Regions from separate parts of the Homo sapiens genome. Here region 1 is linked to region 2. The links are contacts of gene promoters, found by promoter capture Hi-C in blood cells and fetal thymus (Javierre and others, 2016). All regions are on one chromosome and are shown on one strand. The core of a region is centred on a gene start or on the middle of the fragment in contact, and the rest is flanking DNA. Distances in the headings are between cores, read along the strand shown.

The links. Contacts are between HindIII fragments. The CHiCAGO score rates a contact against its expected background, and 5 or more counts as called.
Region 1: a fragment that was not itself captured here is called in contact with the fragment with the promoter of SP140 in region 2 in 5 of 17 cell types (naive CD4 T cells, non-activated CD4 T cells, total CD8 T cells and 2 more); the score reaches 7.6 in naive CD4 T cells.

Annotation. Positions count from the first base shown.
Region 1 is chr2:230,355,329-230,358,028 of GRCh38, reverse strand. It overlaps SP140L (SP140 nuclear body protein like), which reads right to left. Exons shown (of 19, transcript NM_138402.6): 3 at 62-224. Among named protein-coding and RNA genes, the nearest start is that of SP140L, 29 kb to the right of the region's middle. The HindIII fragment of the contact is 5,058 bases long and covers 1-2,700 here.
Region 2 is chr2:230,224,351-230,227,050 of GRCh38, reverse strand. It overlaps SP140 (SP140 nuclear body protein), which reads right to left and starts at 1,315. Exons shown (of 27, transcript NM_007237.5): 1 at 1,148-1,315. The coding sequence starts at 1,206. It also overlaps a transcript of SP110 not described here. RefSeq lists enhancers at 726-775, 796-875, 946-995, 1,226-1,435. The HindIII fragment of the contact is 6,572 bases long and covers 1-2,700 here.

The DNA of each region.
Region 1 (2,700 bases), core at 189-2,688, 130 kb before region 2:
ACAGAAATACTTGTAAAATATGAAAGCATATCTGCCAGGTTGTGAAATAAACTTTACTTACTTCAAACATTTTATTTGTGATGAGTTCCCGATCGCGGAGGCCCTCAAGGAATGGAAATGTCTTTTTTATTGCATTTGATATCTCCAGCTTATGTCTTTTGAAGTGCTTGAATACAGTGTCATAGACAAGTCCCTCATCTACATCCTGGTCTTCCGTGAACAGCCTAAGGAAAAAGGACACCAAATGAAAATGGTCATCAAGATTCTGAGATGTTTGTGGAGATGGTAAGATTTTATGTATAACGGATAAGCTATGAAGAACCAACATATATAAAATAGGTGGTCCTCAGTAGAGCCCAGAATAAATGGAATTGAAGCAACAAACAAAAATGTAATAGAAGATATCATGGAGCCTATGCAAGACTAATATAGAGGGCACTGAAAAAGCCCAGTCTAAACTGAACAAAGTCATTGTAAAGATATCTTCACCTAACCATATCTGGAATATTTTTCAAAATAAAAATATTGAATTCCTACAGAATCTAGATGGAGTAAGCAGGTCATCCACAGAGAAATGAAAGTCAATGGAATATAAATAAAAATCTAACCTTGAAAATGCAGCTTAATCAACAACTGAGAGAATTTGACAAAATAAAAATAAGATGTCCTTCTCTAATCTGTAGCTGCTAGGAAGGAAATACCATCATATATCATAAAATTAATTCATAAATAATACAATGTGGTTTAATAATGATAATAATACCACATTATTGAGAATTTCATGAGAATATCAGTGATATCTCCTGGAACATCTGGTTCTGCTTTGTGTTAATATAAATCTGTCCATACTATTGCTATATACAGTTAATCATTTTAGGCATCTGAATTTCAGAAATCGCTGCCGTTTCCTTTTAAAGCAATTTTAAAGCTGAGTCTCTAATTCTAGTTCTTAGTTGATCATGTTATTGCTCTGATAATGTTTTAATCAACATCTCAGTATTCCTAAATGTTATGAAAACTTGGGAGCTCTTTTTATCCAACCAGAAGAGAATTATTGGCACTTCCCAGTACACAACATAAAGCAGGAAACAATGTCGCATTATTGTTTTGAATTCCTGTAAAAAAAAGTTTCTGGTTAAAGTTCATTAAAATGATAATAAAGGAATTAGATTTACAGTGACAAAGAGAATGGTGGAGGACAATGAGCACATAAGAGATTTCAAATAAAACCTTGAAGACAAAAAGTGGTCAGAAAAGTGCTAGTTGCAATAGTAGGTAGGGGATGCTCCTAGAGGTTAGGAAAGCAATCGTGGTGCCCTACAGAATTCGGAAGAAACAGTGGAGATTTGAAGGGAGACACACAGCTAAAAACTGATTTGTTATTTGAAAAATGAACAGAGCAATGCATATACTGCCTGTGAACCTGCATACTGAACACATGCAGCCAGGCAGCCTCTCAGGGGGCAACCATTGCTGTCATTTATTCTGTCAGATGTTAATACTGCCTGCTCTTGGATTTCATATAAATGAGCAAAACATATACATGCTTTTGTGTCTGGCTTCTTTTGCTTATCATCTATGTTGCTGTGTTGAACAGTTAGTTTGTTCATTTTTGTTGTTGAGTGGTATTCCATTGTGTGAATCTACCACAGTCTGCGTACTCATTTTTCTCTTGATGGACATTGGAGTGGATTCAGTTTGAGACTAGTATGAATAAAACTGCTGTTCTTGTGCAAGTCTTTTTGTGGCAAAATGCTTTCATTTCTCTTGGGTAAATATGTGGGAATGGAATTACTGGGTCATTGTGTAAGAGTACATTTAACCATTTTAAAACCTGCCAAACTGTTTTTGCAAAGACTACCAGTGATGGCCTTTCTAGTTTTAGCCATTCCAGTGTGTACGATGTGATAGCTAATTTTAGTTTTAATTTGTATTTCTTTAATCAGGAAATTATGTCAAGCATGTTTTCATGTGTTTACTGGCAATTTATTTATTTTTTGGTGAAGTGTCTGTTCAAATGTTTGACCCATTTATATTATAGAATTTTATTTTATTTATTGACAGGTAGGAGTCCTTTTACAGATTATGGATAGAAGTGTTTTGTCTGATTTATGTATTGTAAATATTTTCACCCAGTCTGTAGCTTCCCTTTTATTTTCTTAATTATGTCTTTTGATAGGAAAAAATCTTTAATTTTGATGAAGTCCAATTTATTATTTTTTCTTTTATAATTAATGACTTTAGTGTACTAAGAAGAATTTGCCACTCCAAGGTCACGAAAATATTCAAAAAGCAATTTACAATATGAACATGGGTTTATATCTGTACTTTCTATGCCATACCATTGATCTGTTTGTCTATCCTTATGCTGATATGATTTTGTGTTGAATACCATGGCTTAAAGAAAGTCTTGAAGTCAATTAGAAAAGATTGTCTTGGACTTTCTAGATTCTTTGATTTTCCACATATCTTTTCAAATCAATTTGTCAATTTCTATGAGAAAAGCCTTTTGGATTTTTCTTGGGTTTGATTTGAAACTATAGATAAATTTGGGGGAGCTGACAACAATATTGAGCTTGCAATCTGTTAGCATCGTTTGCTTCTCCACTTATTTAGATTAATTTTAAAAATCAAGCACATCTTTCATTAAATTTATTTCTAGTTATTTTATTCTCTCTGGTGCTACTTTAAAGGATACTG
Region 2 (2,700 bases), core at 66-2,565:
TGCTCAAGTCCCTGATATAAAAGGTGTAGTATTTACATATAACCTATGCACATCCTCCTGTATATTTTAAATCATCTCTAGACTTATAATACCTAATACAATGTAAATGCTATACAAATAGTTATACTGTATTTTAAATTTTTATATTACTTTTTATTGTTGTTATTTATGTTTTTAATTTTTAGAAAATATTTTGCATTCATGGTTGGTTAGATCCATGGATACAGAATCCACAGATAAGAAGAAATGACCGTATTGATGTACTTGTCTTTTTTTTTTTTTTTTTTTGAGATGGAATTTCACTCTTGTTGCCCAGGCTAAAGTGTAATGGTGTGATCTTGGCTCGCCAAAACCTCTGCCTCCCTGGTTCAAGCGATTATCCTGCCTCAGCCTCCTGAGTAGCTGGAATTACAGGCATACACCATGACACCCAGCTAATTTTGTATTTTTAGTAAAGACAGGGTTTCTCCACGTTGGTCAGACTGGTCTCATTGTCTTACATTTTTTAAAGATGATTTCCAGGCTTCTCTGACCAGATATGTAAAAAATACCAGAACAGAAGAATAAAAAAAGCAGAAGCAGCACTCACTCTCTACCTGCTTGCCTTTTTTGTTGGGTCTCATCTGCTTTCACTTCCTCCTACCAAGTATTCAGAGATCCTGAAGTGATTCTAGGGCTAAGAGCCACATAGATGGGCTCAGAGCAGAACCGGTCCCCAACTACACAGCCTGGAAAGTGTGACAACAGACAGGCGTTTGGATTTTAATTCTTCTAAAAAGATCCTTTTTAGACAGAGTTGTCTTTTGGAGTGGGGATAAAGGAGGCCTGGGGGAGAAGAGAGGGTTCAGAGGTCACGGGGAATCATCCAATCCTACACAAAGCCTCAGAACAGGCATGATGTTCAAACAGCTCCAGTCCAGCCATTTGCAGATGTAAGAGAATAGGAAGATGATGTGAGTCACGGCATCCTTGAGTTTCTCCAACAGCCAATCCCTGCAATTTAAAAAATCTGATTGCCTCGTTATTTATTTGTAACTGAATTCTATTGTATACCTGTAGAGTGAAGCTGGGTAGACATTAAATAACAAGTATGAAAGGGAACCCTACCAGAGATGAAGGACAGACGGGAAAGGAGACGATGACCCACCTGAAGTTGAGATTGCTGTCTCCACTTGCCATCTGCCCCTGCTGGCCCTGCTGGGCCATGAGCTTGGCCTAGGATCACACCCGATTCGATTTTCACTGCCCCGTTCCTTCCTGCAGCTCTGAGGTGAAGCTGCCAACTGCCCCTCGGTGCTCAGTCAAAGAGGAAAAGAAAAGTGAAATTGCCTAACTAGCTGACGTGGGTGCACCAACTCTACAGTCCTCCCTCCACCCAATCTCCATGACGTCTCTCAGTCAAGGGAGGAGGAGCAGAGCCAGCCCCACGAGGCCACGGAAGACAGGGTCACTTGTTCCTGCCAAGGAAAGAGGGTGGAAAAGTCATTCAACTCAAGCAGATCAAAGTTGTTTTGAGGTAAGGTGGCATCATGAGGAGGAAGTAAACTCTGTATTTGTCCCCACCCCTTGCTGAGGTGGCTGAGAAGGACAAGTGAAGACCAGACATTTCAAATCTTCAGTCAGGCTCCAGGGCTGGCCATGCACCTTAGTGAGCCTGGGCTGGATGGCTTAGGCCCAGTGTTTGGACATGGGGCCAGGGAGAACTGAAATAGCATGCATTAGAAAGTGGGGGAGATGCTCTTAGCACTCCATGAAAGCAGACAGAGGTAAAAGACAACTCTCTCAACTCCTCCAGCCAAAGGCAAGTGCTGAGGTTGGGCAGAGAAATGAGGTGCAATTCTAAGTTTTCTCAAATATGTGGGCACTTTACAACAGCAGCCAGGGGTGACTGGGAAAAAAATGAGCTTCAACCATTTCACTGAAATCTTGAGGAGAGTGACAGCCTTCTCACTGGATGGGGAAAGGGTTTGGAGCTGAGATTATCTAGACCTTCAAGGACAATATGATACAGGAGGATAGCTGTATTACATTTATGTTTGCACACAATTTTTCATTTATACCCAGCCCTCATTCTGTAAAGGATTTGAAACAATTTACAAAAACACACTATATCAGCATAAAGTCGAGTGATAAACAAATGGAAGCAAAGGGCAAATATAAAAAATATAACCACAGGACTAGAAATCCAGGCAGAAAAATGGGTCAAAGACAGGGGGCTGATGAGAGCCAGGGTATGGGTAGAATCCAGGGCCAGTGACAGAACAGTAGTGAGGATTGAAAAGCCAGAGGCAAAGCAGTATTTTTCCAAAACATGTGCTCCTGAATCCTACTTTTTCTGGTTCATTACACATATGCAAGGAAATTTGCATACATAAGTTTGCAAAATACAGAGTGCAAGAAATTTCTACCCCTTCCACACTTCTGCTTTCTTTCTACCAAAGGAACAAACACCAATCTGGTTGAGACAAACTCTAGAACACTGATGAGGACACCTTTTCCAGTATCTCTCTCTCTCTCCTCTCTCTCTCTCTCTCTGTCCTCTCTCTCCTCTGTCTCCCTCTCTCTCCCTCTCTCTCCCTCCCTCTCCCTCCCTCTCCCTCTCTCTCCCTCCCTCTCCCTCCCTCTTTAAAACAAGAAGGAAAAGTATGCTGGGCTTCTGTTAGACACAGCTGTCCTCTCCTCCCAGTCTCCATGGGGCTC